4 separate regions of the Homo sapiens genome follow, and regions 1, 3 and 4 are each linked to region 2. Evidence: promoter capture Hi-C in human tissues and cell types (Jung and others, 2019). All regions are on one chromosome and are shown on one strand. The core of a region is centred on a gene start or on the middle of the fragment in contact, and the rest is flanking DNA. Distances in the headings are between cores, read along the strand shown.

Region 1 (2,700 bases), core at 112-2,611, 290 kb before region 2:
GAGTTCTGGACTTTTGATACCATGGAATTCTACTGATGGGAATTTGGGTTGATGGTACGGGGAACCTCTATATTTATTTACTAGGATGGGAGGAAGTACAAAGGTTATGAGTGAATAAAATTGGTAAGTATTTTAGAGCAAAACTGCTTCTCTGAGTAAATTTAGTAAATCTGCCTAATTATGAAGTTAAATTGATTTCATGAGTGAATTAACATCTCAACTATTGAAATGTTTTTCATTTCTTTTACATAGTCATCTCAGCAAAACTTAAGGAAAATAAGAAGAATTGGTTTGGACCAAGTCCTTACGTAGAGGTCACAGTAGATGGACAGTCAAAGAAGACAGAAAAATGCAACAACACAAACAGTCCCAAGTGGAAGCAACCCCTTACAGTGTAAGCTTGGAAGTATTTTTCTGTAGTATGTTTTGTTTAGTAGATGATTGGAAATACAATTTAAAAAAATGTTTCTCACTTTGGTTTTTTGTTGTTGTTGTTCCTCCTTTCTCTCTTCTTTTTTTTTTTTTCTTTTTCCTAGGACTCCTTCTGGTTTGCTTTTTTGTTTCTCTTTAGATAGCTGTTTTTATAGTCACTCCCTTTCTTTACCTTCTCTAGTTTAGTTGGTGATGATATTGCTCTTGTCACTGAACAATAGCTGAAGAGAGCCCATGGTCACGGACCTAAAAAGATTTCTGGCAGCACTTTTTATTAACTTTGGGTTGAATTAAGGGATTATGAGTACTCCCCCCCCCCCCGGTTTTTAACTTAATTTTTAAAAATAGTGTTTTAGTTAGTTTTTTCTTTGTTTTATTTTGAGATAGAGCCTCACCCTGTCACCCAAGCTGGAGTATAGTGGCACTATCATAGCTCACAGCAGCCTTGAACTCCTGGCCTCAAGAGATCCTCCTGCCTCAGCCTCCCAAGTAGCTGGGACCACAGGCATGCATCACTGTGCCTGGCCAGTTTTTTAGTATTTTAAATTACGGTGCCAGTTATACTATAGTTATTTATTTTTTGAATGAGATGGGGTCTTGCTATGTTGTCCAGAGTGCTCTCTCTCAACCTTCCCGGCTCAAGCAGTCTTCCCATCTCAGCCTTTTTCTCAAGTAGCTAGGACTACTACTATACATTTTATTCTACAACTTTCTTTTTGTACTTAACACTAATATCATGGTGATCTCTTTACCTGAGTACATATGGATCTTGCATCCCTTATATAGCTTTGTAATATTCCTTAATATGGGTGGACTATATTTTAATAGTTCTGTATTGATTCTAATGTTGCGCTATTAGGCAGTATTGCAGATACATCCATGTGCATATATCTTTGTATGTTGGTGTTTATATCTGTAGTGTAGATTCATAGAAGTAGGATATAGCTCAGTTTTAACACAAAGCCCTAAATGTTGGCATTATAATCTAAGATATTGACAGCCATTGAAGGTTAATTTTAATTTTTAAAATTAAAATAGAAGAAAACACATGGAGCCAGGTGTGGTGGCTCACACCTGTAATCTCAACTCTTTGGGAGACTGAGCCAGGAGGATTGTGTGAGGCCAGGAGTTCAAAGGTGCAGTTTGATATGATTGCTCCTGTGAATTGCTACTGAACTCTAGCCTGGGCAATGTAGCGAGACCCTGTCTCTACAAAAAGACAAACAAAAAAAAAAAAGAAGAAAAAGAATGATTTGGCCAGGCATGGTGGCTCACTCCTGTAATCCCAGCAGTTTGGGAGGCCAAGGTAGGAGGATCACCTGAGGTCAGGAGTTCGAGACCAGCCTGACCAACGTGGTGAAACCCCATCTCTACTAAAAATACAAAAATTAGCTGGGTGTGGTGGTGGGTGCCTGTAATCCCAGCTACTCGGGAGGCTGAGACAGGAGAATTGGTTGAACCTGGTAGGCGGAGGTTGCAGGTTGCAGTGAACTGAGATCGTGCCATTGCGTTCCAGCCAGGGTGACAAGTGAAACTCTGTCTCAAAAAAGAGAGAAAAAAAAAAAAGAATTTATGGAAGATCATCTTGAGGCCCGTATCATTCGGATGTTCCTCATCTGTGTTTATTTCAACATAAATGTTTCTTAGGCTTTCTGTTTTTAATTAATGGCTCATTGTAGATTGAGTCAAAATGAAACAATGTATTAAAAAAATTTCAAGAAAACACATGAGGCTGGGAATGACTGCACATGTTTGCAATCCCAGCTACTTGGGAGGATAAGGGGGGAGGATAAGGTGCTTTAGCCCAGGAGGAGTTCGAGATTAACCAGGGCAAAGTAGCGAGTTCCCATCTCATATATATTTTTTCCTTTACCAAGTGGTATCTATAAAAGGTCGCAGCCTCCATGATTACCAGAGATGTTCAGTTGAATTAGATGGTCACCTAATTTCCTCCAACTGCTTTGAGTGCGTACTTGATATGCACTTGGAGGCTCTTAAGCTGTTAATGTCATGAACTTCTTAGTGATTTAAAAGTTAAGAAAAAAACTCTCTTTGTAGTTCTATGTGGTAGTGCTGTTCTTGATTACAAACATTTGGGAAACTTACAATTCAAGTTATTTTCCTGAATTTTTAAGTTGCAGCAAATTGGCCTGGAATTTTATCACTTCCCATTGTCGTGTAGCAGGCTTTCCAGACTGCTTTTGAGAATTGAATTGAAACAAGACTGATCATCTTTGACAGTATACTTTATGTACCTTTCTTCCATAT
Region 2 (2,700 bases), core at 110-2,609:
GGGCATCTCCCAGGCCACTGGGAGAGCTGGGGCCTAGAGCGTGGGGTGGGTGGAATCCTGAGGGCAGAGAGTGTGGAAGAATCTTACAATGGCAGCTCTAGAGGGAAGCCTGGATATGTTTGTTTGACAAACTGAGACCCAGAGAGGTAACATGACTTGAGGTCACACAGCAAGTCTAGGGCACAGTCAGGACTGAAAGCCAGGACTCTGGGGAGGCTAAAGCGCCCTGAGGTTTAGACCATCTGGTTCATGTAGAGAATGGAGAGGGTCAGGGCTGGGAGCTATGGGTTCAAATCCTGGCTCTGCCATTGACTGTACTTTTGTGACCTAAGAAAGTCACTTGAGCTCTCTGAGTCTGTTTCCTCAACTGTTAAACGGGACAATATCTACCTTTTGGGTTGTTGTGAAGATAAAAAAACACACCCATAGCACAGGTCGTGGCACACAGTAAGTGTGCCAATACATGTCAGCTAGTGGTATGGTGGTGCAATAGTAGGTGCCTAATAAATGTTGAATGCATTGTTGAACATGAGTTCACACGCTAACAGTGAGATTGTGAGACTCAGCTTTCCCACGTGTAAATCAGGACTCATAATCAGTCCCTGTCCTGCCACTTCTTTACAGCCCCGGTAGCAACATAGATTAAATAAGGTATGTAAACGTTCAAGCGCGGAGCCGTCTCAGGTCAATGTTTACTCAGCCCAGGGCAATTCCTCTCCAAGTCCTACTCTGCGAAATTTCACGTCAGCTTCACTAACTTCTCTACATTCCCAGATGCTCCCCGGGAACCGGGGGTTGGGGATGTCCCTCTTTTCTCAAGCCCGCCGAGCTGAGGAAAAACGGGGTGGGAAAGCAGAGTGTGTAAGGCTGAGGAGGTGAGCCAGAGGGGGGAGGGAGAGCAGGAATAAGGGCAGTGGGGAGAATGCAGGTGCACGGACGTGGTGTGGGTCGAGAACAGGGTCCGCATCGGGGGACTTGGATATAGGATGCAGTGAAAGGATTTGGGGAGCAGTGGGAGAGGTGAGGGCGCTGCGATCCGGGAAGAATCAGGAAAATAAGGAGCCGGTAGGAGGGAGTGGAGATCCTCCTCGCGGAGAGCTCGCCGCGGCGCAGGGCTCCCAGCTCCCCGCAGCTGCCTCCCCGAACACTCACCCTCCCGGTTCCGAGAACGTTTCCCGGCCCGAGCGCCCGGCCCGCAAACCGGGAGGGGAGGGGAGGGGAGGGGCAGGGGGGGATCCGCAGCCCGGGATTGGCCGCCGCCCCGCCAGCCGGTGACGCGAGGCGGGCGGGCCCCTTTGTGACGTCACAATCAGCTGTTTGAACGTTCCAATTTGTGCCGTGAGCCCCGCCGCAGCGGCCGCACAGACTCAAAGCCCCGCGGGCGAGCTCAGCAGCCCGGAGCGACCGCGGCCCCGCCGCCTCCCCCGCGAGTCCCGGCGATGCGGCCCGGCCTGTGAGCGGCCGGCGACCCTGGGACGCCCCGCCGCACAACTACCTCAACGCCGTGCCGCCCCCCTCCCGCCCCCAGGTGAGTCCCGACCCGGGTGGGCCTGGGGGCTCCCCTGCCACGGACACGCCCTGCGCCCCCCGCGCCCGGGCCTTTGTCTGTCTCCGCCGGCGGCCGCCGGGGCCGCGTTCCCGGCTCCCGATTGGTTGCCGCACGCCCGGTAGACCATGACGTCGTTCTATTTGCATATGACATTGAGACGTCACCAAGGCCGGTACCGCCCCCACAGGCTCGGGTCGCTTGTCCTCCCGTGACCCGGTAGCCGCTGTGTCGGGGCTGGGCCCTGGGTGAGACGCTGCAATCCAAAGGGGGCTGCAGGGGGATCGGCGATTTCCTAGGCTTATCCAGGGGCTGGGGTCAGGCCTCTGATCCCCTACTTTCTCTTTGCAACCTGAGAAGGAGTCAGACGGCGCTGCTGGGCCTAGGTTGAGGGGGTCGTCAGGAGTTCAGGGCTGCATGGGACTCCAGGTGGTTGGGACAGCACCAGATGGTGGTGGGATCCCCTCCCTCCGGCTCCAGACTCCGCCCCCAGGGACTAACAGAATAACATCCTCCTAATCCCTGATTTGTGTGCAGCGCCTTAGCTGATGTCACTCCTAGACCCAAAATGAAGGGTCTTAGACCCCAGTGCATGGAAGGGGCAACAGGCCCAGAGAGGAGGATTAGCTCTCTCGAGGTCACATAACCAATTAGAGTCATGCTCACTGAGTGACAGATGGATTATTAGCCAGGGGCAAAGACATAATAGGGGCTCAGTACAAGTGGTAAGATACACATCCTCCTTCCACTGGGGACCCGATCTTGGGCTCAGCCTTATCACGGTTTGATAGGCTCCTAGGTGTCCTTACTCCTGGACCCTTTTCCAGGGAATCTCTGGAGATTGGTTCACCTTTTGTGGTCCTGACCCCTTCTGTCCTCACTGTACCTTGAAGTCCTAGAGTCCAATAAAATCGCTGCCTCCCAGCTGTTTGGATCACAGAGAGGTGAGTCATTGGCTGCCTCGGGGTGTCTCCAGGGCTGATGTTGGGGTGGAGGGTGGGGTGAGGGTTCCCTCTATTGGCCCTTTACCTTCCCAACTTCCTAGGTCGTCAGCTAGGAAGGGCCTGACCTGGCCTAGTGCAGACAATTGCAGGTGTTTTGCTGCTCCCTCGTCACCTCTGCCCACAGAGAGTATAGGAGAAGGGATAGGATAA
Region 3 (2,700 bases), core at 168-2,667, 270 kb before region 2:
TCTGAAATTCCTAGGAGTATGGGTTAGTACTGTGTAGTGGTTTGGAGGTAGTACATACCAGAGCCTTGGCTGAGACATCTGCAGACTGGCTACTTATGCCCTTGTTTCTAATCTATGACTAGAGCCCCTCTGGAAGGAAAAGGAATCAGCTATATTTAGCCAACAGTAGCAGTAGCTTTCAGTCTGACATTTCCTGTTAGTGTTCTTCCCTCCTTTCTATCCCTCCAGTTGATGTCATTGCTTTGAAGAAATGACAGCTCCTTTAAAAAAAGTCTGTGGTTACTTCTACTCTAAATCACTAGCTTTGAACATTTTGTGTACCATTGTACTGAGCTGGGGGATATCAGGGCCTAGTCCCTGGGAAATACGTGCACTTTGTTCTCCTAGCATGGGAAAACCAGACCTGCCTCAAACTTGAATTAATAGCCAGTGGAAATCAAGAAACAACAATGGTAAAGTTATCTGTGCTTGTGATAAAATAGTGCCCTAAGGATTTTGAGAACTTGACTTTGTTCCTGTTCATATAGGGCCTTCTGAAGGCTTATTTGAAATATGAACCAGCATACCTAATAGTTCTGAATGGCCACAAGTGTTCCTATGCCCTTGGACAACCCATCACTCTATCTCTAGATGAACTCTGGGGGTTATATAGGATTCTACCCAAAGGCTCTTTATGTATTTAATAAGGCTGACCAGAAATTAAAAAGCTTTTTTGAAGCTCTTAAAAACTTAGAAGTTTTCATCCTCCTGCTGTTTTTTTTCTTAAATTCAAGGAGTATTCATTATTTCCCTCTCCCCCTTCCTTTTCCCCTCTTCTTACCCAGAGTGAGCACAAATGGATCAGATGACCCTGAAGATGCAGGAGCTGGTGAAAATAGGAGAGTCAGTGGGAATAATTCTCCATCACTCTCAAATGGTGGTTTTAAACCTTCTAGACCTCCAAGACCTTCACGACCACCACCACCCACCCCACGTAGACCAGGTTTGTATTCCAGCTCTCAATACTCTTGGAAATAATGTCCTGGTTGGCAATTAATCCTCAGGTAAGTGTCAGGAAATTCTTTTAGGTGAATTTTCTGCGTGTATTTTTACATTTAAGATTTTGGAAAAGAATGATCTTTCTGTAGGTAACCAAAAGTGCCTTTTTCCTAAGTTTTTGTTCAAGGTGACGTTACTGAGGCAGTGCTCTACTGAGAATGAAAATGACATGTGCGTAATATAAAGTATAGGCGGTGCAGATAACATGGCAATAACATTGTACCTTTCTTAAATGGTTTGTAACTATAACATAAATGTATTAAATACTCAAGGATTTGGTTGCTTATTCCTAGTATATCCTTTAAAAAGTTAGTAAACGAAAACCCAACAATGCTAAATGACCCAGATTTTAAATAAAAAGTACACAACAAACAAGCATATTTTAGGTAGTAAAAATGTGAACACCTATAAGACTATCCACTTCTCTGATAGCCAGAACAAATCTTTAATCTTACCTTTTATTGTTTCTCTCTGCTAATATGTGGGCAGGGAATGCAGTGTAGTTAAACCAAATATTACTAGAAAAGTACATTAGTTCTCTGCAAATAATTTTAAGTGAATTTCTATTCAATTATACATCTTCTCCTTTTTATTTTTTTATTTTTTGAGACAGGGTCTCACTCTGTCACCCAGACTGGAATGTGGTGACATCTCAGCTCACTGCCACCTCTACTTCCCAGGCTCAAGTGATTGTCTAGCCTCAGCCTCCCGAGTAGCTGGTACCACAGTCATGAGCCACCAATGCCTGGCTAAATATTTATATTTTTTGTAGAGATGGAGTTTTGCCATGTTGCGCAGGCTGGTCTGGAGCTCCTGAGCTGAAAGTGATCCTTCTGCCTCGGCCTCCCAAAGTGTGGGAGTTACGGGCGTAAGCCACTGCAGCCACATCTTCCCCTTTTATAGATAATTTGATTAATTGTATATTCTGAGTCTTTAAGATGTCTTTATTATAATCTTGGTGACTTCCTCTAGACATTGTTTTGTCCACAAGTATTTCTTAAAGGTGTAATGTATGACTACTAACTATCTGTAAGAATGTTATTTCTTATCAGACCTTCCATATTATAACCAACATCAAAAATTGGTCTGTAATCTGCACGGTTTCACAGGAAAGCAGTTTTAAGGAGCTGGAAAATTAATAAATGAACTTAAAATACCAAGGAATATTAATAATTTCCTATTCTAAAAGTTTTTATTTCCAGTGACATCAGAAGATCAGAGAACCTGTACATGCTTCGTGATTAGTAATGGGACATAGGGGTAGACAGGACCGAAAAAGTAAACAAGCCTATTAACTGGCAGCGTTGGTTATTTCCCATTACTTATTTCTTTAAGTAATTTTCACCTGTGCATCTACATCTTAAGTTTTATATTTATCATCTGCCTTTTATTTTTTACAGTTAAAATTCTATCCTGAATTTTAGAAAATGAAAGATTCTTTTCCTATTTTCCCCAAATCTTTTATAGCATCTGTCAATGGTTCACCATCTGCCACTTCTGAAAGTGATGGGTCTAGTACAGGCTCTCTGCCGCCGACAAATACAAATACAAATACATCTGAAGGAGCAACATCTGGATTAATAATTCCTCTTACTATATCTGGAGGCTCAGGCCCTAGGCCATTAAATCCTGTAACTCAAGCTCCCTTGCCACCTGGGTGAG
Region 4 (2,700 bases), core at 25-2,524, 330 kb before region 2:
TTATTATAAAAAGGAAGTTGGTAAATGTTACAAGAGTTTCATTGCATTGCAATTTAAGAAATTAAGTTCAGATTTTTTGGTTCCTTTAACATGATTGAATGTATTCCTTTTTTTTTTTTTTTTGAGACGGAGTTTTTCTCTTGTTGCCGAGGCTGGAGTGCAATGGTGCAATCTCAGCTTACTGCAGCCTCCACCCACTGGGTTCAAGCGATTCTCCTGCCTGAGTCTCCCAAGTAGCTGGGATTATAGGCATGTGCCACCACGCCCAGCTAATTTTGTATTTTTACTAGAGATAGGGTTTCACTGTGTTGGTGAGGCTGATCTTGAACTCCTGACCTCAAATAATCCACCTGCCTCGACCTCCCAAAGTTCTGGATTACAGGCATAAGCCACTGCACCTGGCCAAATGTATTTTTTTTTTTTTTTTGAGGCAGAGTCTTGTTCTCGCCCAGGCTGGAGTGCAGTGGTGTAATCTTGGCTCACTGCAACCTCCGTTTCCTGGGTTCAAGCCATTCTCCTGCCTCAGCCTCCTGGGTAGCTGGGATTACAGGTCCCTGCCACCATGGCCAGCTAATTTTTATATTTTTACTAGAGATGGGGTTTCACCATATTGGCCAGGCTGGTCTCAAACTCCTGACTTCAGGTGATCCGCCTGCCTTGGCCTCCCAAAGTGCTGGAATTATAGGCATTCGGCCTAACATAATTGAATGTATTTTAAGTGCTGCTGTATGCTAGACATTGCAGGGACTTATGGTGAAAAAGCAATCTCTGCCCTCCAGCAACTCGCATTTTTTTTTTCCATGTCTGGAAATTGCTTACCCTAATAGATCTATCCTTCTGTCCCAGAAAAGAGAAGAATTTTAATACTATGTCGTCACTTACAGGTTAAGAATTCATCTACATATTGAGCTTAACTCACTCCAGAAATATCTACTAACTTGCTTGCTTTCTGAGAAAATGTTTATTATTTTACTGGATTCTGCAACCTTTTCTTTGTCAGTTACAAGAGAACATTTTTTTTTTTTATTTTTTTTTAAGATGCAGTCTTGCTTTGTCGCCAGGCTGGAGTGCAGTGGCACAGTCTTGGCTGACTGTAATCTCCGTCTCCCAGGTTAAAGCGATTCCCCTGCCTCAGCCTCCCATGTAGCTGGGACTACAGGTGCCCACCACCACGCCTGGCTAATTTTTTGTATTTTAGTAGAGACGAGGTTTCACCATGTTGGCCAGGATGGACTTTTTATTTTTTATTTTTTTAAGACAAGATAAGCTCCAGAAATAACCATCTGCATTTAGGTGAACTTTGATTTGCTTGTTAGGCCTTCATTCGTGCAAAGAAAGAGTAGGTTCTACAATTTTGTCTTGATTATTTTTCCAAATAATCAAATTTAGTTGGTCACAAAGGAAAGGATTTTAGTCTAAAGGATTATATTGTAGGAGTTAACAGTATTTACTGGAGTTAGGTTGATTTTGAATTTTGACTCTACTGTGTAGTGGTGGTATGATCTTGGCCAACTTGCCTAACTTCTTTTTGCCTTAGTTTTCTCATCTGTAAATTGGGAATAGTAATAGCATATATACATAGGTATTATGTGTTTCTGCTTGAACAAGACTTGGCTCACAGTGTGAAGTGTTAGTCGTTGTTTTCATTATCATCATTACCATCAACCTTATCTTTCTTAAAGTTATGATCTGAGTTCATAAATCATTCAGTAAACCTATTTAGGCTGAGCATTGTAAATTTAAATGCCTGCAAGGGCTGGATGAACATTTAGTAAGTAATGACAGATCAGACTGGGACTTTAAGTGAACTAGGGAATTCATTCCCCTCCAAGGGAGCAGCTGTTAAAGCAGCTTTGGCTTACAATTTTTTTTTTTTTTTTTTGAGACAGAGTTTCACTTTTGTTGCCCAGGCTGGAGTGCAGTGGCATGATCTTGGCTCACTGCAACCTCAACCTCTGCCTCCCGGGTTCAAGCAATTCTCCTGCCTCAGCCTCCCAAGTAGCTGGAATTACAGGTGCTCTCCACCACGCCTGGCTAATTTTTTGTATTTTTAGTAGAGATAGGGTTTCATCATTTTGGCCAGGCTGGTGTTGAACTCCTGACCTCAGGTGATCCACCCGCCTCGGCCTCCCAAAGTGCTGGGATTACAGGTGTCAGCCACCACGCCTGGCGTGATTTTTTTTTTTTTTTGAGACAGAATCTCGCTCTTGTTGCCCCAGCTGGAGTGCAATGGCGCAATCTTGGCTTACCATAACCTCCGCTTTCCGGGTTCAAGCAATTCTCCTGCCTCAGCCTCCCAAGTAGCTGGGTTTACAGGTGTGTGCCACCACGCCTGGCTAATTTTGTATTTTTAGCAGAGACGAGGTTTCTCCATGTTGGTCAGGCTGGTCTGGAACTTCCGACCTCAGGTGATCCGCCTGCCTCGGCCTCCCAAAATGCTGAGATTACAGGCGTGAGCCACCGCACCTGGCCTTTTTTTTTTTTTTTTTTAATGGAGGTAAAAGTAAGTATGTGAGGTTATGTATATGTTATTTAGCTCGATTTAGCCATTCCACAACATGTACATATTTTAAAACATGTTATGGGCTGGTCATGGTGGCTCATGCCATAATCCCAGCACTTTGAGAGGCTAAGGCAGGAGGATCTCTTGAGGCCAGGAGTTTGAGACCAGCCTGGATAACATAGTGAGACCCCATCTTT

What was found. Contacts are between HindIII fragments. The study calls those that stand out against the background at their distance.
Region 1: a contact is called between a fragment that was not itself captured here and the fragment with the promoter of TP53INP2 in region 2, in 2 of the 25 tissues and cell types used here (dorsolateral prefrontal cortex and lymphoblastoid cells).
Region 3: a contact is called between a fragment that was not itself captured here and the fragment with the promoter of TP53INP2 in region 2, in 2 of the 25 tissues and cell types used here (dorsolateral prefrontal cortex and lymphoblastoid cells).
Region 4: a contact is called between a fragment that was not itself captured here and the fragment with the promoter of TP53INP2 in region 2, in 2 of the 25 tissues and cell types used here (lymphoblastoid cells and spleen).

What each region holds. Positions count from the first base shown.
Region 1 is chr20:34,408,399-34,411,098 of GRCh38, forward strand. ITCH (itchy E3 ubiquitin protein ligase) reads left to right here. Exons shown (of 25, transcript NM_031483.7): 4 at 253-394. Among named protein-coding and RNA genes, the nearest start is that of ITCH, 46 kb to the left of the region's middle. The HindIII fragment of the contact is 5,070 bases long and covers 1-2,700 here.
Region 2 is chr20:34,702,985-34,705,684 of GRCh38, forward strand. It overlaps TP53INP2 (tumor protein p53 inducible nuclear protein 2), which reads left to right and starts at 1,360. Exons shown (of 5, transcript NM_021202.3): 1 at 1,360-1,528; 2 at 2,374-2,490. LOC105372599 (a long non-coding RNA gene) reads right to left here and starts at 1,198. Exons shown (of 2, transcript XR_936690.3): 1 at 1,153-1,198; 2 at 675-829. RefSeq lists a silencer at 1,156-1,635. The HindIII fragment of the contact is 10,895 bases long and covers 1-2,700 here.
Region 3 is chr20:34,437,650-34,440,349 of GRCh38, forward strand. ITCH (itchy E3 ubiquitin protein ligase) reads left to right here. Exons shown (of 25, transcript NM_031483.7): 8 at 825-982; 9 at 2,506-2,695. Among named protein-coding and RNA genes, the nearest start is that of MIR644A, 27 kb to the right of the region's middle. The HindIII fragment of the contact is 9,574 bases long and covers 1-2,700 here.
Region 4 is chr20:34,372,869-34,375,568 of GRCh38, forward strand. All of the region lies in intron 2 of ITCH (itchy E3 ubiquitin protein ligase), which reads left to right. Among named protein-coding and RNA genes, the nearest start is that of ITCH, 11 kb to the left of the region's middle. The HindIII fragment of the contact is 5,475 bases long and covers 1-2,700 here.